Linked DNA regions of Homo sapiens: all the other regions are linked to region 1. The links are contacts of gene promoters, found by promoter capture Hi-C in blood cells and fetal thymus (Javierre and others, 2016). All regions are on one chromosome and are shown on one strand. The core of a region is centred on a gene start or on the middle of the fragment in contact, and the rest is flanking DNA. Distances in the headings are between cores, read along the strand shown. Region 1 holds the start of FBN1 (fibrillin 1). Region 2 overlaps FBN1 (fibrillin 1). Region 3 overlaps FBN1 (fibrillin 1). Region 4 overlaps FBN1 (fibrillin 1). Region 5 overlaps FBN1 (fibrillin 1).

Region 1 (5,040 bases), core at 1,681-4,180:
TTTTTAGGAAGGCTTTATAAATAGTTTACAATAGGATAAGGTCTGTGTTAATGATCAAATACTGTGAGGAGCACAGAGAGGTATCTCTCTATAATCACAAACAAATTTAAAACCAGAGAGAAAAAGCACAAGTGTGAGTAAAAGTGTGGCATCCTGTTAAGCAACAAAGTAAAGCTTAGTTTCTTTTTTCACATTCCCAAGGGAACACACTAGTTGGTGACAGCCCAGAGAAATGAGACAAATGTCTGACCAGGCCTCACACCTCTCTGCAGATCTTCAGCCACAGAATTAAATCCCCACGTCCTTTATATACAGGAGCAATCCTATCAGAATAGATATTAAGATATTATTATGTAGGAGAAATGTATTTTTGAAGGAAAAATACTGGACTAAATGAGGTCCTCTTGAGAACATATGAAAATCAGAGCCTCAGTCTACTTATTGAACTTGCCATGTGCCTTGCACACAGGGCAATAAACATCTGCTGTCTGATCAAGGTCAGGTTTACCATGATAAGCAAACTTCCTTCCAACATTATCGGAATTCTGGGTTTATTTTCCACGAAGGCCAAGATGGAACCGAATTAATCATAACTATTTTCTGTGCTATTTTATCACAGCCTAAGTGCTTGGCTCATACAATCATCTTGTCCTTACTCCAGACTAGGAGTCAAAAACTGGTCTGGTGAGTTTACTTTTTCTTCTCATATCTGGGCCATACAAACACAAATTTTACTACATATACATGACTATAACACCTCATAACAAAAAAAGAGTAAGTGAAATGAACAGCCACATATCCAAGTGGATACCATCACTTGGTGACCCAGAGCTATATAATAAAGCTACAGAACCACTCAGGAAAAGAGCATCAGCGAGAATGGTAAGAATTTAATACAAAATCTCCCTATATATACTGTCTGAATTTATTTAACAGGCTCCTCCAAGAAGATAAAAGGGGTCACTGACAGTCCATCCTGTTGTTTCCATGGAGGCTTTAACTTAAACAACTGCAGACAAATTTCTCTTAAAGGAAATGTATTCCCACTGTCCTTCAATACAGGAAAATGACAACCCTTAGTCAAGTCTAATTAAAATTTTTCCGGCTGAAACATCTGTAACAGCGGCATGGGAAGCCAGTGAAATGGTCAGTTGCATGTACACAACACAAACACCACTAGTTAAAAATACTCCCTTAAGGCCGGCCACAGCAGCCTTACTGCTGCAGTGAAACGGAGAGCCCCACACAACTCAAAAAACCAGTTCTCAGAACCACTTGCCCTGTTCTGCTTCCAATGTAGACATCTAAAGGAAGCATTGCCCAGAAAACCCAATCCGTAATTTTAATAAGCATAATTTACGGAAGAGTCAACTACTGTGTGATTTCTCCTCTGACTGTCATGGGAATCCCTTCCTTTCCTTGCCCCCTTTCAAATACAGCATCTACCAAGATGACCCCAAGGAAAGTACTTTCCTCTAGAAACAACCAGAATTGATATTGCAGGGAAAGGAACGGGCTTCTCCTCTTATCCCACTCGCAACTCCTCCCCTTCTTCCCCAAGGAACTCTTCTCGCCTCCCAAAATCTGCCTCAACAATGGCCCAAGATTCCATTTAACCACGTCCTCTCCTTTGGGGCAGAAATCTCTGGGAGTAGGGGCAAGGTAGTTTAACCACGAACGGGGTGGGGACTAAACAACCCTAGCACCTCTAAGGTGCCCCCAGGAGGTCTTGCCAAGGAGTCTTCCACAGGGAGAGTCATCCTGCCCGTTGTTCTGGATCTTGAAACTTGGGAGACCCACACCAAAGGAGGGAACCGGTTCCTTTACCCTTTAAGCGCGTCGTGTCCTCCACCGCCTCTTCTCTTGGCCCGACTGGCTCTGGTTTCCTTCACGTTCCCAGCCTCCAAATTGGCGTCCGCCCCATGGCTCGTGTAGGACGCTAAAAGCACGGTAAATCCCAGGGCGATCTCCAGCAGACGCCCTCGACGCATGATGCCGAGCCGCCACCGGCTCCCGCCGCCTCTTGCCGCGCCCGGGGCTCGGTCTGCGGCCGCCGCTGCGCCCTGAAGCGCACCGCGCCGCCGGGGTCCCGCTATCCCGCCGCCCGTCCCCCGGGCCGGGCTCCTCCCGCCTTCTCCAGGCGCTGCTCCCACTTCAGGCGGCCCCTGCCAGCTGCAACACAGAGACAAATCCCCGAGGCGGGGAGACTTTCAGGGCATCGGGATGCTGAAGCCTCGCGGTCCCCATTCCCAAGCCCAACCCGTGCGCCGCCTGCGCGTGGCGCAGTTAATTTGGGTAAGGGAAGACCGTTTGGTCCACAGCTGGCTGGAAAGCCCAGGCCCCCGGCGGCAGCAGCCCCGGCCGATCCCTCGGCCTCCCGGGCCCCGCCAGAAGAGCGCGGCGCAAAGTACCCATATCCCCAGCGGTCCTAAGCCCCGGGCGAGCTCTCTGGGTTTATTTTTTTTAGCGGCACGAATTGCGCGCGATGCGCGCTCTGAACGCCCCACTCCTCAGCCTGCCCTCTCCGCCAGGCTGGAAGCCAGCCGCGCCGTCCCCGCCGACTCCGGGCGATGCCACCGCCCCCCGAACATCTGACGCGGAGCCCGGCACCAAGAGCCCCGGGCCAGGAAGCTGTCAGGCAGGGGAGGGCCAGCGCCAGCTGTGGACGTTCCGGGACAGCCCCTCACCCCAGTCCCTGTCCCTGCCCTCGGCGCGGCGCAAACGCAAAAGCCTCCGTGGCCGCAGCTCCAGCCCCGGTGGCCGCCCGACCCCCGTCGGGACCCCGGCTGCACCCACTGGAGAAGCGGCGGCTCCGACTCCCGAGGAGGCGGCGGCGGCTGCTCCCAGTCGTGGCCGCTACAGCCACTGCTCGGCTCCGCTCGCAGCTGTCCCAGCTGTGGCTCCTGTCCGCTTGTGGCACCCACAGTCTCTGCCGCGGCTCCCGCAGCCCCCTCCTTTCCCCACCTCTTCAAGTATCGTCCGCGCAGCGGTTTCTCGCGAGAGAAATACTTTTTTTAAAAAAAGAAAGAAAAAGAAAATGACACCCCCTCCTTCGTCGCCCTCATCACCACCCCACCCCCCGGCCCCATCCATCCTCCCTTTCCACTCCCCTTTGCCAGCCTCCGCCTCGGTGCGGGGCCTCTCGCTCGCAGGATTAGCGCAGTGGGAGGAGGCAGAGGTGATCAGGTCCTGCCCGGCCTGGGACTTTTTGTCTTGAGGTGGGGAGGGGAGAAATGGGAAGAGGTGGAGTAGCGGTTTTAGCCCGCTCTGCGGCTGCGAGGTTTAGATCCGAGATTAACCTCTCCCGCGATAGGTGAAGCCCTACCGGAGCAGAAAGCTGTTCCACCTGCACCAAGAATGCGCGCTGGAGACGGTTGCCCCGGAGGCCCTGGCCCGAGAGAAAACCAGTCCCCGCTGCCCGCGCCTCCCGGTAGCGCGCTCCCTGCGCCTCTCCCGCCGGACACTCAGCAGACGCCGGAGGCCGGGAGGCTAAGACTGGGCGCGTCGCAGGCCGGGACCGCGGCAGAGGCTGCTGTGCCGACCGAGGAGAGGGCTCTGCCGCCCCCACTTGCCCTGGGTGTCGAGAGCCCACTCCAGACGCGGCTCTTCTGAGGCTCAATTCAAGCCACCCAGGCCTGAATCCAGGGTGCTCTCTCTAAGTCGGTGTCCAACCCAGGGGCCTGTAAATGTTGGAACCTAGGATGTAGGATGGGAGCGGTGAAGGGATGGTCCTCTTGCCCAGCCCAGATTAAGACTGGGGTTCATCTGGAGGACTCTACTTACACCCTCCCGGTCCCCTCGCCCTCCCCCACACACAGCTGCCTCTCCCCAGGATATGCGCGGCACAGTGAATTTAGTGGCTTTGAAAGGTATAGTATTTGTGGCATCCTTATATGGATAATGCCCAATGATGCCTGCACCCTGTAACAGTTTAGGAAGGCCTGAAGTCGCACACTGGGTCCTGGCTGCTGTAACTGGAGACCCCCAGAAGATCCCCTGCAAGCAGCCACCAGCCTGCTGTCAAGCCAATAATAAAAGCTCAGCACAAACAGGTACCCTGGGAATGTATCTTGTTGAAAGGGATTTTCCTTATTTGTAACCGTTTGTAAAGGGGCCCAGACAGTAGGGTAGAGAGACCTGGGCAAGTTATTCAACTTCTTTCCAAATACAAGATGGGACTTGTAGTGTCCACCACACAGGGTTGTAATGGTGATGATGGACATGCTGAACTGCTGTGATACATGAAGATGAAACAGAAAAACTGTGGGAACTATGAGCTGATCTAAAGCCATAGTCCTGTAAGTATGTATGTGGTGTACTTTAAGGTCTCACCTGCAAAAGGTCTCTTAGCAGATTCATGAATGAGAGCCTTGGTCACACACTCCTGGCTGAGTAAAGGAGATCATTCATTCAAGATGTTTTTACTGAGCACGAACTGTGTACTACTTAGTGCATTGTTGAACTAGACTTCAACAATTTTAACAAGGCAGGTTCAACAATTTGAACACGACTGACTTCAACAATTTAGTGAAAAGGGCAGAAATGTGTCTCCCCTCACACAGCAGGTAGTCAACAAGGAAAGGCAGACTTGAAACAAATAATGGACCAATTGTTAAGCGCCAAACAGGATAAGTACTGGGTGCTTGCTTGGAGGATATATAACAAGGGGACTTGACCTAGGCTAGGGCTGATCAGGAAAGGGATCCCTGAGGAAGTGATATTTAACTTAAGTCTAAAACATAACTAGACTCTACTTAGGATAGCAGTTCTCAACCCTGGCTATGCAGTAAAATAATAAGAGGCTTTAAAAAAATTCTGACACCAGGATGGGCATGGTGGCTCATGCCTGGGCCTGTAATCCCAGCACTTTGGGAGACCAAGGCGGGTGGATCACTTTAGACCAGTAGTTCAATAGCAGCCCGACCAACATTGTGAAACCCTGTCTCTACTAAAAATACAAAAATTAGCCAGGTGTGGTGGTGCATGCCTGTAAATCTTGCTACTCAGGAGGCTGAGGCACTAGAATCGCTTGAACCTGAG
Region 2 (5,040 bases), core at 849-3,348, 240 kb before region 1:
CTCAGCTAGACCTGAAAATGGTATACATCACACCTCCTGACATCCCGCTGGTTAGAATCACATCACCCAGCTCCAACCTAACTGCAGAAGAAGTTAGGATATGCCATCTTTCTGCGGCCCAGGAGAAAAAATACAGGGTTGGTGAGCTTGTAGTCCATTCCTGCCACATATAAATATCATAAAAATGCTTATAACTTCCTAATTTAAGAACCAAAGGCTTAGAGTTTAAGTACCAATATTTAAAAATAACTTTATATGGCCTGGCACAGTGGCTCAAGCCTGTAATCACAGCACTATGGGAGGCCAAGATGGGTGGATCACCTGAGGTCGGGAGTTCGAGACCAGCCTGACCAACATGAAAAAACCCCGTCTCTACTAAAAGTACAAAATTAGCTGGGCGTGGTGGCGGGCACCTGTAATCCCAGCTACTTGGGAGGCTGAGGCAGGAGAATCGCTTGAAACCCAGAGGCAGAGGTGGCAGTGAGCTGAGATTGTGCCATTTCAATCCAGCCTGGGCAACAAGAGTGAAATTCCATCTCAAAAAATGAAAAAAGTTAACTTTATATATTATTTTTCTCTTCTATTCGTAGAATCAATCATACATATACATTTTATATGTATATTGTTTTTACATATATATGTATATATATACATACACACACACTTATATTCGAAATAAAAGGGTCCTTTATGGCCGGGCACGGTGGCTCACACCTGTAATCCCAGCACTTTGGGAAGCCAAGTCTGGCGGATCACGAGGTCAGGAGATCAAGACTATCCTGGCTAACACGGTGAAACCCCGTCTCTACCAAAAATACAAAAAATTAGCCGGGCGCAGTGGTGGGCACCTGTAGTCCCAGCTACTCGGGAGGCTGAGGCAAGAGAATGGCGTGAACCCGGGAGGCGGAGCTTGCAGTGAGCCGAGATGGTGCCACTGCACTCCGGCCTGGGCGAAAGAGCGAGACTCCATCTCAAAAAAAAAAAAAAAAAAAAAAAAAAGGGTCCTTTACAGTATGAAATATGTCTGCCCAGGCCGGAGTGCAGTGGTGTGATCATGACTCACTGCAGCCTTGGCCTTCCAGGCTCAAGTAATCCTCCTGCCTTGGCCTCCCCAACAGCTGGGACTACAGGCATGTGCCACCATACCTGGCTAATTTGGGTATTTTTTGTAGAGACAGGGTCTCCCTATGTTGCCCAGACTGGGCTCAAGCAATCTACCTGCCTCAGCCTCCCAAAGTGCTGAAATCACAGGCATGAGCCCACACACTCTGTTATAATTTTTAATAAGAATTGTCTTGGAGGCAGTGAGTGTCTCCAGGTTGCCTAGCTTGGCTTTAACCCACGAAGCCCTGCTTATATTTTATGTATTGGATTTCAGAGTAAGTTTCATTTAAATATAGAAATTTAACTTTAAAAATGAACTCACCACTGAAAATCACCATTTTATGTGAAAACTACCACAGCATTACATGGGGGAGATAGGTTAGAAGGGTGTTTTAATTTCAGTGATTCATAAGGATCTAGACACGGGGCTTTACAGATGTCAGAAGGAACATAGTACAGAAGCATAGCTTGCCTCCTGGCTTCTAGGACCAAGGCACTGAAGATCATACACCCTGCTACTTCCTTCAAGAGCCTCAAAGGCTCACATCCCCTCTGACTATAGCTGGGAGAGAACTGCTCTGCTACCCCTTATTTGAAAGTACCTCTGCGTTAGGAACTTGGCTTCATTCATCTTTGTCTCTACTGCTTCATGCAGATGGCTCAAGGCAAGTGCTCAGAAAATATTTTTTTCAGAAAAACGAAGGGAGGGAGATGAAGAGGAAGAGATAGAAGAAATAGGTTGCTCTTCTGCAGAGATTTTTCCTATTTTCCTTCTCCTAATCTCAGTCATTGATCCTTTCAACACATATTAAGTGCCTGCTATGTGCCAGGCACTGAGCTGGGTGATAAAGCTACGAGGACAAAGCAGGCCTAGTCCTTGTCATCAGAGGCCTCGTATGGCAGCAGCGGGTTACAGGGGCCATGAAGAGATTTACTGAGGGGCGAGGGAGGGGAGCAAGCAGAGAAGCAAGAGGACTGACAACGGTATGGCCCACTCTCTCCTTGGCCTTCTCTTGGTTTCTAGAAGAGCAGAGAGAAGCCTAGATCTTGAATCACAATATAATTTGTAGCTTACAGATTCCTATTTTACTTTCTTGTGTTACATTTTATTCATTCTTCTGGCAAGCACAGTGAACTGGGTATGCACTGTGTTGTCAGAAGATCTGGAGTTTTTATTCTCAGTTCCAACTCTTTAGGGTGAGAGACCTTTGGCAAGAGACCCCAACTTGTGCATGATTAGGATGATAAAAATCTAGGATTGAGGTGAGGATTGAGGATCAGAGGTCACAGTTCACAAGTGCTTGTTAAAACTGTGAAGTTCTACAGAAGTATTAGACTTTTATATATAGTGGGTAATAATGGTCCAGCAAGGACATAGGGAAGGTGTTACTATTATCCACAATAATAAGGCTCAGAGACATCAAGGAGTTGCCCTGGGTGGAATAACTAGAAAGGGATGGAACTAAGATTTGAGCACAGCTTTCTGACCCCAGATGTCCTGCAGTATCAGGACTCTCAGGCAGGCACTCCTCAGGAGCAAAATGAGCTCTCAGTGAACTTTCTTTGCAGCTCACGGAAAGGTCAAAGCTCTGTAAATGAAGAATCACTGACGCTAGGAAAAAAAAAAATCAAGGCTGAAAGCATCAGCCTTTAAGGATGGTGCACCTGGCTTCCGTGTCCTCTCCTGGTAGGGGTGAGGCCTGTGGGGGTGAACATGTGGGCATGAGATCGGGAGCCATTTTCTCCTGGGGAGCTGGTTAAACAGCACACTGACTCCCCAGCTGGAGGCACCACACCTCCTGTGAATGACCCACCAGAGAGCCCACGGAAGCCAAGCCACAAAGGCGCAGGAAGCAGCAGGCCTCAGGGAGGAGCTTGCCACCCCGCCTGATCATGGGACTGCCCAAAGAGGGATAATCTCCATACAGCTGAAGACAGAAAGGCTAAACAGCACATCGTGCTGATTTCATGTAGTTACAAAAATACACAGACACAAACCCAATCTAGTCTGTTGAGCCTTGGAAATTCTGATATATTCAGGTCTCATTAATCTTTTCTGACAGGTCTGGCCTCCATAGCAGAGCTGGTGGGGCCACGCAGAGCAGAGTTCACCACGTAGACACAACTACAAAGGCCTGTGACCTCTGTCACTGTCTAGTAGGACTGATGGGATGTGTGATTATCATCAGGATGTTTTCAAATGTCTCCATTTCCAGGAGAAGAAAAAGGTTGATCATGTAGGTTTGATTTAATTCTCCCCAAGAGAGTATTTCAGGGTAAAAAGGAAACAGATCTCTTCTTATTTCTGCAACTCCCAGCACAGCTGCAAAGAATACATCAGGTGGGATATGAAAGTTAGGAAATGCTCAATGGAGCAGCTGCTTTTTGCTTAAAATCTCCACCTCTGTGTTGCTTAGATTTGAACCCAAGCTATGGATTCCAGAAGTACTTGGAAGGCTTGATGCCTTCTAGCTGACACCATAACCAACCCACAGGGGGCACAGGGGAGCACAGAGAGGATAATTTTGCCTTCATTTATGAAATGGGGATGGTCACAAAGATCAAAAATCACAATGAAGAGATAGCAGAGGGTGGAGCTAGCCAGAAATCGCATCCACTTACCTGCTATAACTTGGTTCAGTCCTTCTACCATCCAACAGTAAAAAATGAAACTGACATCCATTTGTAGAAGTTATAATTCAGATTTTTTTTTTCTTTTTCTTTTGAGATGGAGTCTTACTCTTCCATGCAGGCTGGAGTGCAGTGGTGTAATCTCAGCTCACTGCAATCTCCGCCTCCTGGGTTCAAGTAATTCTCCTGCCTCAGCCCCTCGAGTAGCTGGGACTACAGGTGCGCACCATCATGCCTGATTACGTTTTGTGTTTTCAGTAGAGATGGGGTTTCACCATGTTGGCTAGGCTGGTCTCAAACTCCTGACATCAAGTGATCTGCCCACCTTGGCCTCCCAAAGTGCTGGGATTACAGGCATCAGCCACAGTGCCCAGCCATAATTCAGGTTTGAATCAAGGATTCAAAGCAACCTATGTCCTAAAACAAGGTTTATGACTTTGTTTGAAAAAAAGAAACCATTTTAGATTTATTAGCAGTTAGTTGAAACAACAGATTTTGTGATTTTTGTCAGGTCTTGCCAAATGCATGTCAAATGTACAAGACCCTCATGTTTATGCAGATATTTGTGAGAATGTCTTTAACTGAGATCCAATCCTGTGAATAAAACCAGTCATGAATATACATGGAAATTTGCAAAGTCAAGTGTACAGCCCTTTTCTATCTCTCCAACCCTAACACTCAGAATAATATAGATCATCCTTTCCTAACTCATACGTAATGTCAGGCTCATACTGGGTTTCAAAAAAAGCATAATGAAGTAAATTGTTTTTTTTTTCTTCTCTCTTTTTTACAAAGTGTTATTTTAAATTGGCAAGGGGTAAATATCTGTCTTCAGCTATAAATGTGAAACTAATATTTCTGCCAGTAATGATCTTCTAACTTTAAAAACAATGTCCTTAAATCATTTAATAATTACATTCCTAATAATTACATTTCTAATACAGTTCTCTAAGAACTACAGTTAAAACCAGAATAAAATATATTCTGTGGACCAAGTTGATGGTAATTTTAAAATCCCTAACATTTATGGGTATATAACTTTTAAGGATACTAATGCAGCATCAACCCAATTGTCCTTTATTTTGGCTCATCTAATTTACAGACATGATTTCTGAAGTTTAACAGTATTTGTAATGGCAATATCCAAAGTGATTTTGGCTGAGTAAACTGCTATTTGTTGAACAAAAATGTAGTTGTTTGTGCAAGTTTAAACATTTCACAAGGCCAGCTGAGTTCATTTCAACCCTACTTACAAAATAATTATTGGCAAATGAAATGGGCTGAGGGGGTAGAGACAAGATATTT
Region 3 (3,460 bases), core at 1-2,500, 220 kb before region 1:
TCACACATACATGCACTCATATATTTCTTTGAGCTTTTATTTTCTTATCCCAACAGCAGAGGAAATAGAAAATAATCCCTTAAAAGAATCGCTACAATCCATGTAGGATTTTTTCCTCTCCTACTCACCAATGCAGGACGTATGGTGTTGGGTAAATCCGGGAGGACATTTGCATGTGAAGCCGCCAATGGTGTTAACACATAGGAACTGGCAGTTGTGTTGCTTGGTTGCACACTCATCAAGATCTACAAGAAAATGCAAGAGAGGCATTTGAGTCAAGCCAACAAAACAGGATCAGGGAAGCTGACCCTATGAAGCAGCTCCACGTTTGATTTGGAGGTCTCAAATGACCCTGACTAGAAAGAAGCCACAGCAAAAGGCAAGGAGAGACACAGGGGGTAAAGATCTGAAAGATAAAACAAGGTGTCAATTTAGACCCTCCTCCCCTCAAAAAAATATAAAGAGATCTTTAGGGGATCCAAGAAAACACAATTCTAATTGGAGAAATGCAGGAATTCCTCAACAAAGGAATTTCAAATAAATCATGACATTTTAAACAAATTTTTAAATGAAGCGAAAGATGAATGATTCTGCAAATTTTCCAGAGCTTTGAAAAGATCTATTTAAGTTAAAACATAAAGAGAAATGTTGAAGCTGGAAATGAATTTGCTGGCTTAGTTCTCTTCTGTTTGCTGTTTTTAATCTACTCAAATGAAGTCATCAAAAACAAAATCTGATTTCTTTAGTCGTGATTCTTCTTAGGATAAACCAAAATTGAGCAATCAGGAAGGAAACAAAGCAAAGGAAAAATTCATTTTAATAGCTAAAGGCACTTTTAATAAAACTGCCTCCAGGCCAAGCGTGGTGGCTCATGCCTGTATTCCCAGCACTTTGGGAGGCCAAGGCAGGCTGATCACTTTGAGCTCACGAGTTTGAGACCAGCCTGGGCAACATGGCAAAACCTGTCTCTAGTGAATATACAAAAATTAGCTGGGTGTGGTGGTGTGTGCATGTAATCCCAGCTACCTGGGAGGCAGAGGTTGCAGTGAGCTGAGATCGCACCACTGCACTCCAGCCTGGGCAACAGAGTGAAACTTCGTCTCAAAACAAAAACAAAAACAAAAACAAAAAACAAAAAACAAAAAAAACAAAAATCCAAAACTGACAACTGCCTGCAGTGTTTATCCAACATTGTTTCCCACATCTCAATAAAACCCTCTGCTTTGACCAGGCCTCTTTTCTCAACGCCTCAACTTCTAAGTTGCATTCTCAACTCCAATGTTATTTCAAAATACCAAGAGATGAAATGTTGTGTTCTAGCTTCTAGCTAAACTTTAATGATAATTTTAAAATTGTCGCATATTCAGGAAAAAACATTAGTGACTTTATTTTATCACAAATTCAACCACTATGCCCTCACCATCTGCACAACTGCTTTGGAGCTGCAGATCAGTGCCAGCTTTGCCAGTGACTGCTTCCACTCCACAGGGCCAGTTCCTGGCTAGAGTAACATCTGGAGTGGACCTACACTGAGAGACCCTCCCGAGACCTGTCCTAGTTCCGGCTTCTCTTATAATGCTGCCTGTCCTGTGCTCTTTCCACTGCTGAGATCTTGACTGATATGCACTCTCTGTTCAGCTTTCTCAGAGTCTGTGGACTGGTTTCCCCTGTCTATGGCCCAAGGAGCTTGGCTGGAGCATCATGACACATTTGCTGAAGCTCACCTGCAACAGGTGAGGAAGATGACTCAGTGATTTCTCCTAACACCATTTCATGAGTACAACACATGAAGAACAGCAGCACTTGCTGCTCTTGCCTCCAAGATGCCCTTCCTCCTCTTCTCCCCTCTAATCTGCATTCTACCCATCTCTCACTGGGGATGTGCTGCTCCCACGGCCACCCTTCTGGCTTCCTCCTTCTCAGTGACTGTGGTGCAACTATCTGCACTATTCATTTGATATTTAGTTATATATACCAAGTAAGTGGAAGAATTTGAACCTTATGGGAAAAAACAGGAAAAGGGACAAGTTGTGAGTGGACATGTAAAAATTACAGTTGCTCTTTGCACTCCTAAAGCCATAAAGAGAACTTTATTGATGCATTTTCATTTTTCATCTTTTAATTGCTGGAAACTTTTGAGAATTTTCTGCCCCCAGAGGTTAGAAAAAATGCTATAAATTTGTTTTGCTTGTTACAGATAATATATACAATGAGAGATATTTTCCCCTTGAATTTGGTTCTTCATTTATATGAATAAATTTATGGCTCTGAGTTATAGCTTCACATTGCCTAGAACTCACAGTGACCCCAGATGTAAAATAAGTTCCACATTTGAGAAGAACAAAGCTATGAGCGACTTCATTTAAGATGTTTAGAATGTGTAAGTAGGTCTCTCAACTTCCTCTCCCCAAACTACAGGATTATACAGGCTTTGTGCTGCACAGGAAGGCCTCAGGCACTTGCCCATGATGTCATCCACTATTACATGTCTCTTAACTCTCCCTTTCAGCAGACACAGGAAAGAGGTCAAGAGCCCAACTTCTCTCTGCTCTCCACTTCTCTCCTCTCCTCTCCTCCAATCTGGATCCTCCGTGGGGATGTGCTGGTCCCACCCTCCACCCTTCTAGCCTCTTCTCAGTTCAGTGGTACACACAGCTGCATCATTCATTTGATATTTAGTTATATATACCAAGTAAGTGGAAGAACTTAAGCTTTATGAGAAAAAATAGGAAAAAGACTCCACTCTATCCTTTACCTTCCTTACTTCTGTATGTTTCTATAAATTTCCTTCAAAGTTTCATGGCATGACATGATATCTCTTGCTCTACCACTTGGTCTATCTTTTCTTCTCCAAATCTCTGATTTCCCAAATTATTGTTAAGTATGACTCACTAGTGCTATTCACTAAATATAATGTTCTTATTGTGGAGGAAGATGTTTACAGGAGTAAAATTAAACCAAAAAAATTTTGCAAAGGATAACTTCTGGTTGAGAAGGGATTTCTGCCCAGAGCTTTTCTGGTTCTTAATTCTGTGTGATATTTATGTCTCAGGGAAGCTCCTACAGGGCAGAAATAGACTTTTTCTGCAGAACAAAAATCTGGACACAGCATCTAATTCATTAGGCACAATGTCCTCTACGATCATGGCACTGATTATTCCGAGGCAGGACCTTCCTGGAAACCTGAACTATATAGCTATAAAGAATAAATACAAAAAACAGAAAGCAGAGAGGAGGTCACCAATTAAGAATCTGCCCCACCAGAGCCATTGAAGCTGGCCCTGCTATCTCTGAGACAGTCATGGATGGCCACCATGGATGCCCAGGGGGCATGCAGCAAGGACAGCTGCTTCCTCCACAATCTCCCTGGCTTTAGCCTCCTTCCCTCCAGCACAGGAGGTAGGTCCCATGGAGGCATTAACCCCAGGGAAGCACCTCCTGCCTGTAGAGCAGGTCTTTC
Region 4 (5,040 bases), core at 749-3,248, 210 kb before region 1:
GACTTACAATTAAATTAAATTGTGTTACTGTCTTTAAGGCCTACAGTCTTACTTACATCATGGCCAGTCTGCACCCTGCATGGCCCAGAGAGAAATGCAGATGACAGACATACCATCAGGTTCCGTGGGGCAGAGCTCGCAGGGGTCTCCCCAGCCTTCTCCCTTCAAGGCACAGCAGCATTCCTGCTTGGAGTGATTTCTGGATTTGGGTGATGAACACTTTCCTCCTTCAAACTTCGCATAACAGTAGCTCATTCGCAAATCTGCAGCATAAATTTATGACACCCTTCAGTTGCTTTCCTACTGAGTCCGTATTGCACCATAGCAAATAAAGAACAACCCACTATGTTATATATGTTCTCCTCTCAGGACCACAGCAATACTCCTTACGTGATTCTAATGGTAACTGAGCTGAGATTGTTAAAGTCATGGGTATCTTTTGTATAGTGAGATCTGATGAACAACTCTATGAACTTAAATTTATTACTTCTCATTTTAGTCACTATTTCAAAGTAACCCGATGTGAATCCAATAAAATCCAAAACTGACAGTTTTCAAAACTGACATCTGTCAGTGACTTCAGGATTGGAAAGTCCACAGAAGGAATCATTCACAAGATTCCTTCATTGATAGCTCTGCTTGCAATATCATGTTTAATGAGCACACTAGAGTAAGAGAATCCTCTTAGTTCTAATATTTACTGTGATATCACACTTTGTGGTTTATTCTGTGTCCCCTAAACTCTGGAACTAAAATAAAATCCCAGATCACAGGCACAGAACAAATACAGAAGTGGCAACTTTGTAGATGGGCAAAAATACAACACAAGGGTTGGTCACTGAAGCAGATACTCCCGGAGATGCTGGCTACAAAATGCAAGTGGGGCTTTTTGTAGATTTTACACACACACACATATGCAGAGCTGTGTCAATGTTAAATTTTTAAAAGAAGCTTGTTTAGCTCAACACAGAGAGGGAAGGAAGAGGAGGGCAGGGCTGTGGGTGGGTGGGAACAGAATAGTCTTTCTTTGAAAGAATATATTTCAATATTGATTATTGCTTTGATGACTCCAACAAAGAAGATGGGATCTACTTCCTATAAAATTCTCCAACATTGCTTGACATAATTTTGGAAACGGGCTTTTCCATTTCTCATACAACACATTGACTCCAAAAAGTGAGCTCAACCAGAGGTATGGACTGTGTTTTCCCTCGAACTTGACTTCTTAAAGCCTTCCAAAACTCCTCTCATTACACAGAGGCCACAATCTGCAGGTTTAAAAGAAATGCTTTCATACCCATATTGTACTATTCTTCTTTCTTTATATCTGACCACCTCTGCCTTTTTCATTCACTTCCATCACTGTTTTTCAATCCCAGGAACCATACTATCATAACCACCTAAGCACTTCTGTTAAGACAGTCTCACCAGCTTTTATTTCATGACAAAGAAGACAATGTAGGAATAACAGAGTTGCCAGAGATAACAAAGGAAAGGTTTTCATGAATTAAAGTTTCTATCTATCTATCTATTATATTTACCAAGTTATGTAAATCAAATTCAGGTAGCCTCCCCAGTAAACCTGCTCAACCTTTCATGGCTACCAACTCATCCAGATAAATCATCTCTCTAATTTCTATTCCACTTCCCCATCTGTTGTGGCAAGGACCTGGCAAGCACCTTTCAATGAATTATCCTTCTGAAGGTCAAGAGCAATAAAAGTCAATCCTGCGGCATCTCTGCCACCCAAATGTTTGCTTTGCTGAGAAACTTCAAGACTGAACAAATTCTTGTTTCTTGGAGAACACTTTTGATCTCTTTTATTCTTCAAGTTCTTTGTCACATATAATGTTTTGTATTTATCAGTCTTGTTTTTGTTATTTATGCCTCCAACTACCTTTAGATATAATTCAGTGACTACTCACAAAAATGTCTCAACAAATATATGAAAACTTAACTCTGCTTTGTCTTCCAGTTTGTAGTGTTTCTTTAAATATGTATGTTGTAATATTGGTGTATTAAAATTCTCATTCTCTTTTCCTTTAATAGCTGACTTCGTCCCAGACCCCAGCTCTATCTCCCCCACACCACTCCACCCCGAAAAAAAAAAATCTTGGCATTAGACAGAGACTCAAATGCACGAAGTCTTGAGTCAGTCTAAGTGGCAAATTCTCTTCGTTGAACTTTGCAAGTGGGAGTGGCTCATTTACACCTGTGGTCTTTTGTGCCAGGCTCTGTCCACCTGAGTCCCATGGCATTCGCTTTTTAAAAAACATTATCCACGGTTCTGTGGAATTTTCTCATTTCATGAGCAATAGAAGTCTGACTCCTAATTTGTCATCTTACAAGAAAAACCCAGCTCTCAATTTCCTGGCTCCAGCAAAATCTGTGCTCTGTAGGAGACTTACTTTAGCTTGTGGTGATTCTCTAGAATTGGCTTATTAATCAAGGGTGTCTTGCATTGGGGAAGAGAGCTGTGCTTGCCCACATACTTCAGGACTCACTGGGATGCCTGTTTACCAGTCCATCTGCAAAGAGCCCTTAATGACCTCGAAATTTCATCAGAACTACAAAAGTCACTTTCCCTGCTTGCATTCCTCAGTTCTGGCTCTGCCTCCTGGAGCTGAGCATGTGGCAGGGCTGCTCACAGCTGGGCTGATTCTTCCTGCAGCGTTAGCTTGCTCTGTGATGGGCCAGTGCAAATTGAATTAATAGCCTAGGAGTTTCCTCTGGCCTGCCACATCGGCAGATTCACACCTGGTTTCTCACTGCTTTCTTTCCAAATTCAGGCCAAGCCAAAGGCACACAAAAACAAGGGAGTAGGAGTTAGAATTTATCTGACTGGTCTGTACCATGCAGAATATCTGTTCGAATTAAGCACCACCCTGAAATCCACACAGACCACTGACAACTACCAACAAGCTGAAATCAACCGGAGAACTCTCAACCCTCTCCTTCTTACTTCCCAAATAACTAGTTGAAAAGTAAAAAGTTAATCAGATCATTAGAATAACAACAAGAGTCTACAAAGGACTCAGAAACTAACAAAGCTTTGTCACAGTAAGGCTGGTTGGGCAGATATTATTGTTGTTTAAAATGAGGAAATTGAGCTTCCAAAAGATTAAATGACTTGCTCTAGACTAAATATGGCAGGGCTGGGACCCCAAACTCAATTTTTTGAACCTTAAATGATATCCAGTGCCTCTTCCATATTTGGTAATACGGAAGCAAAACCAAAAAACCATGAAAAAAAAAAAAAACCCAACTCAACATCAAAACAACAGTAACAACCAAACAACAAAAGCTACAAGTGGAAAAAAAAGAAATACATGTGTTTGTTTCATCTCCCTTCCCCGGAATTCATGAAACTAGTTTGTGTATGTAGATATCCATACACAACTGTATTGTTTAGAAAAGTCTAAACAGTTTTCTGGGACTTAAGTACATACTGTGTTATGCCAAAGTTCAGGATCCTTTTGATTTTTGTTTAAAATTTGAAAGTCATTGGCAAACCCTTGAAAATCTTTACTCAAATAGTTGACAAGTATTATTCCTAAAAATGAACAATGGCCCAGCAAGAATCCTGATCAGTTTAAATTTATTTTTGTTTTCTTGGAGAATTTGTGATATAAGGGATGGTTACCATATTGTGGGGGCAAATGGGTTAATGTGCAGTTTTTCAGTCTCAAGTCTAACTTTGGACCCACATTTTTCAGCTTATCTCTTCAGAGGTAGGGGATATGTAGCTCAACTTCCCCCAGGCTTTGCTGTTTCGGTGGCTCAAGGTGTTTCCCCACTGATGGGCCTATCAGCATTTGTGTTCTTAGTGGGAGAGAGGTTTATGTGTCAGTACAATTGTATAAGCAACCATAACTTGATGGATGAGTTTTTAACCTTAAAAGTGAAAATGAACCTTCTGACATATGGTTATCATTAGACCTCTGGGTGAATGAAAACTCTCCATCTTCCTGTTCACAAAGAAACAGAGCTTTGCCATGTTTGAAAAATAAGACCACCACAAATAAACATGCAGCATTGAAAGCCCAAAGCCTTCAAAGACACTTACCTTGGCACCTTCTTCCACTGGAGGACAAGGAAAACCCTTCTGGACACAGACATTTGAAGCTGCCTTCAGTGTTACTGCATGTGCCCAGGGCACAAATTTCTGGCTCTTCGACACACTCATCAATATCTAAAAGAATCACATGAGTCAAACAAAGTCAAAACACGATGGAGACATCATCAGGTACCAAACACACAATGTGGACACACAAAGGGCAACTGAGTTTCCAAACTCTTACAATAATAAAGGTATTTTTCTGTACCATAACACTGTGGACTGGACTTCTAGGTTGTCATGACTTCAAAAGAATTAGTTTTGACAGTTATTGATATAAAAATGGAATGTGCAACTGCCTTCTAAGGGGTGCAGTGACAAACGTCTCTTACCCAGACTGAGTTGCTTGGCTAACTAGAAAAGTCAGAGTAATTTCATAGTACCCTAGGCCAGGAAAGAAGCATGAAATTCTAGAGTCACACTGCACCATTGTTCAGGAAGCAGAAATGCTGAGACTTTAAGCACATTGCTAGTGACTCACTCAATGTGAGATCTAGGCCTTTGATCCAAATTTACTCCCCTCCAACCACCCACAGAACTTTTCCCAATACCCTATGCTATAGCCCTAAAACTGTGAATTTTACAAGAACACTAAGACTCATGAAAATAAGTATAATCCTATGAAGTGCAAACTAACGATATCATAGAAGATGACGCTCCTGATTTGTGGGTTAATCTTTCTGAAGACACAAAAATACCTTTCTTGTACAGGCTTTTTCTTTCATCATATAGACAATAGGAAACTGTACACTTAGAATTGTGGCATGTTTTCTTTAGTATATTATACATCTTAGCTCCTGTACAGTGGTAGTTAAGAGTAGCCAATAAGAAGTTTGAATGGCTTGAGTAACCATATGTCCTAGTTTGCCTGGGGGAGCCCCAGCTCATGCCAGTTGGCCTGACTTTATTGTTAATAGTGCCCT
Region 5 (3,685 bases), core at 1-2,500, 190 kb before region 1:
ACCCAGGAACTCAAAGCTTTTTCATATCAGCTGGGAAGTCTAATATTAACACACTGTGTGTTGGGGGAAAGGGGCTGGGAATGTGCCTCCTGGTTTTTCCACTGAAGTTAGTGAATTTTTTTTTTTTGCATGAAATTTCATGTTGTTCCACACCATGCCCTTTACTATTTCTAGAGCTTAATGCATTTCTGAAATTTCAATGTTGTGAAATTCGCCAAGTGTGTATCAAGTAGCTCATCAGTTAGCTCTTTTCTGGATATGATAAAGTCATGATGCCACTTACCTTCACAAACCAACAACTTGTCATTATAGAAGAATCCCACTGGACATTCACATCGGAAGCTGCCAACCATGTTGATACACACTCCATTTTCACAGACCCCTGGGATCTCCCGGCACTCATCAATATCTAGAGACAGAGTAGTCATTCATGAGTGACAGGACAGCACATGATCCCTGTGCAGGGTAAGACAAGATGGAAAGTGCGTGCGTGTGTGTGTGTGTGTGTGTGTGTGTGTGCGTGCATGTGTTGGGGTGGTGGTGATGGCAATAGGGACATCAACGAATAGCAAATTGAGATAACTAAACCACTTTCCAGACATGAGTCTAACTGGATTTAAATATATGTTCTGGGTTTTGCTTCAGAATGTCAATTTTGTACAGGTAGGAGATATCTTTGTATCCTCTGGGCACTGTGGATGCACCAGATGAGTAGAATAGAGGGATGGTCAAGGGTAAACAGCCTCTCCACCCAAGTGTGCCTATATTTAGGGAAAAAGGCAGAGGTGAGCTGGTAAAGAACCACAGAGGAGCACATGGTCATATGGAACTCTGATCTTTCAAATTCCAGTTTAACTCCCCCTTCCTACTTCATGTGGCTTTAGAAAGGAGGTAAGTCAGGTGTGGGGATGTCAGCTGGGCTGGGGCTGACAATAAAAACGAGGTCAGCACCAAGGAAGAACTGTCGCAGTAGAATGTGTGCTTCCTAAGACTGGGAGTTGGGCTTGGCTCTCCAACACTGTGTTATGGTTCCTTAGCACTCTACATGACAGGTAGTAAGTGCTCAATTCAAATTTGTTCAGTTAAGAGCAAGTGTCTGGCAGTGTGTTGGTGAGCACTAAAACAGGACCAAGAGTGAGAACACAGCCAGGATCCAGGCTGCTAAGGCAGGGCTGGCCAGCTATGGATAGAGACTTTGGACACCTCACCAGCTTGGCCATGTCCCCAGCCTGGAGTGGTCCCATCTCTGTCTTACCCACTCTGAACTCCTGACCACTGAAGTGCCCTCTAGGATAAGAGTAGTAATAGTAGTAATAATGGTAATAGTATTAATAGTGACAGTATCTCATTTGCTGCATGACTGGTACATTTCTCAAGCATTCAACCTGTATTTATTGGCTGAATTATCACAGCCACCCCATGAGATGGTCTCGGTACTATGACTATTCTAACTAAGAGATGAAGCAAGTGAGGCCAAGCCACAGGATATAACCTGCCCAAGACCAAGCAGCCAATGAAAGGCAGAGTCAGGATTTGACACTGGGACTCAGTTAACAGGCCATCCTGCCTCCCTTATCATATAAGGGAAGATCGTATTATGGTGATTTCCTGCATCACCCTAATACAATCTTCACAGAACTGTCATCAACACTTTTGTTATCCTGGAGGGCCCTTCCATCAGCCCCTTGGCTGGGTTTGATGAAACACCTCAGCTGGGAGGTATGCAAAGCCTTGGTCTACAATCCAAAGTCTTCCAATTCACTAGTTTCTATGACTGTTGTTGAGATACGTTGTTTACTTATTATAGTCAGGAGCCTTTGCAAGGTACATACTTTGCTTGCATACTTGTGAGAAGATGATCACGGACTGAAGTGGAGCCTACAAGAGCTGCTGCAATTTTAGAAGAACCACACTCTATAACCAATCTGTTTTAAAGGAGAAATTTGATGTCATAGATTTATTTTAGACCCTTTTTAAAAAAGGGCTTGATTTTGTGTGAAGGCAAAATTGACCTATTTAATGAAAAGAAACAGCTTAGAATCTCAAAGGGTTCATTGCTATTTTGAATACACGCAATTATGTCTTTAGATCTTTCACACCTTTGTCATTCATGTCATGAAAATGCCATATAAAGTTACATCACAACTGTGTATCATAAGTAAACAAAAAACAAATTCAGATGCCATTCATTCAGTGTGGGTTAGAACACGAAACATCATATTCACATTCGTTTTAAATATAAGTGATATATTATTATCAAGTTTAACAATAACGGGCTGAGTCTAATTTCCAGCCATTGTTAGGTATAAAATAGCAAAAGGATATATTAAAAATTATATTTTCTTTTCCTGTCAGGATTTTATTTGAACTTCAACTTAGTGAAGTTTATATTTTAAGACAAGATTGATAAACATGCTATAGTTTTAACCCTATATGAATGGACTCCACATGCCAACAATCATAAGATCTTCCAAAAGGAGAGTATAAAGCTTAAATAAAACAAAGTTTTTCAGTCATCTAAATATTTTGTCATGCTGGAATTTGGTAACAATAAGCATATAGCTAAATAACAGATGTCCAGTTTTCAAGAGCTAGAAGCAAACTAAGCCATGAGTCAGGACTGTGTTCTGGTCCCAGCTCTGTTATTAATTAGCTGGGTGGCCTTGGGTGAGTCCCTTCCCCTCTCTGGGCCTCTGTCTCCTCAAATATGAAGCAAGGCATTTGGACTAGATGAAGTCTGAAGCCTTTCCAGCTCTCCTAGTGGACAACGCTAATGTTCTTTCTAGTCTTTGCTTACTGCCAAACTTGGAGGGCAGCCTTGCTGGGGTACATGCCTGGTTGGTCCGTGGAGAACCACTACCATTACAGACCACTTATCTTGTGATCACAGATTCTAGGGAGGTTAAAAGATCTGTTTTGGGAAGGGGAAAAACAAAGCAGCTAGGGCCAGGTGTTCCATGCCAATGTCATTTAGCAGTTTTTCTTTCCAAACCATGAAGTTTCTTTGGACGTGGACGAGACTGTGGAGCCATATGGATTTGGCACTAAGGGAGCCAGGCTGATTGCTGGACCAGACTCTTGTTTTCTTAAACAAGGTCACTGGAAAGGCTGATGTGGATTTTAGTTTACTTATTATGAATAAGGTGGAATAAAGCAAGTGGTGATGTTTGCTACTAGACACAACTGTGCAGACTTAAGAGGGCATCTAAGGATGCATATAAATCACACCAGGGAAAAACTCAGAGAATGCAATAGCTTTCCATCTACTTTTATGTTATTTGGTTTTAAACCACAAGGGCATTGCCTGCACTGGCTGAGTGCTGTGTAATACTTCTGATTCTTGCACAAGCATCTCTCCCAATGTTGTGTTCTCTGCTTCATTTACCAGGCAGGGCCTCAGACCGAAAAGATTTTTATTTCACATCTGAAATTCCCAAAGCAGATGACCTGAGGAGATTCCATGTAAGATAAAATTGATCCACGAAAGGACTTTATGTAAACAATCTACACGTAAGGATTGGTGTGAAGTCACTTAACCTGGTCTTAGTCAGAAGGAAGGATTGAGAATTACAGTTAAATCAAATGTCAACTGGCCCCACTCCCAGAATCTCTCCCCATGTTGATGCCTAAGGTTGGTGTAACTATGCTTGATTGTAATTTTGGGAAAAGCTTTCCAATCCCCTTA

What was found. Contacts are between HindIII fragments. The CHiCAGO score rates a contact against its expected background, and 5 or more counts as called.
Region 2: a fragment that was not itself captured here is called in contact with the fragment with the promoter of FBN1 in region 1 in 1 of 17 cell types (megakaryocytes); the score reaches 6.7 in megakaryocytes.
Region 3: a contact is called between a fragment that was not itself captured here and the fragment with the promoter of FBN1 in region 1, in 1 of 17 cell types (endothelial precursors). The highest score is 5.4, in endothelial precursors.
Region 4: a contact is called between a fragment that was not itself captured here and the fragment with the promoter of FBN1 in region 1, in 1 of 17 cell types (endothelial precursors). The highest score is 8.1, in endothelial precursors.
Region 5: a contact is called between a fragment that was not itself captured here and the fragment with the promoter of FBN1 in region 1, in 1 of 17 cell types (endothelial precursors). The highest score is 5.0, in endothelial precursors.

What each region holds. Positions count from the first base shown.
Region 1 is chr15:48,642,779-48,647,818 of GRCh38, forward strand. FBN1 (fibrillin 1) reads right to left here and starts at 2,931. Exons shown (of 66, transcript NM_000138.5): 1 at 2,797-2,931; 2 at 1,828-2,172. The coding sequence starts at 1,991. It overlaps FBN1-DT (FBN1 divergent transcript), which reads left to right and starts at 3,027. Exons shown (of 2, transcript NR_183872.1): 1 at 3,027-4,052. RefSeq lists silencers at 1,906-1,955, 2,056-2,185, 2,596-2,775, 2,816-2,895 and enhancers at 2,969-3,493, 3,006-3,095. The HindIII fragment of the contact is 7,208 bases long and covers 173-5,040 here.
Region 2 is chr15:48,403,517-48,408,556 of GRCh38, forward strand. It overlaps FBN1 (fibrillin 1), which reads right to left. Exons shown (of 66, transcript NM_000138.5): 66 at 4,797-5,040. Among named protein-coding and RNA genes, the nearest start is that of DUT-AS1, 74 kb to the left of the region's middle. The HindIII fragment of the contact is 5,889 bases long and covers 1-5,040 here.
Region 3 is chr15:48,421,824-48,425,283 of GRCh38, forward strand. FBN1 (fibrillin 1) reads right to left here. Exons shown (of 66, transcript NM_000138.5): 61 at 129-245. Among named protein-coding and RNA genes, the nearest start is that of DUT-AS1, 92 kb to the left of the region's middle. The HindIII fragment of the contact is 2,918 bases long and covers 1-2,709 here.
Region 4 is chr15:48,437,655-48,442,694 of GRCh38, forward strand. FBN1 (fibrillin 1) reads right to left here. Exons shown (of 66, transcript NM_000138.5): 50 at 4,067-4,192; 51 at 114-263. Among named protein-coding and RNA genes, the nearest start is that of DUT-AS1, 110 kb to the left of the region's middle. The HindIII fragment of the contact is 2,099 bases long and covers 950-3,048 here.
Region 5 is chr15:48,456,354-48,460,038 of GRCh38, forward strand. It overlaps FBN1 (fibrillin 1), which reads right to left. Exons shown (of 66, transcript NM_000138.5): 44 at 284-409. Among named protein-coding and RNA genes, the nearest start is that of DUT-AS1, 130 kb to the left of the region's middle. The HindIII fragment of the contact is 2,473 bases long and covers 15-2,487 here.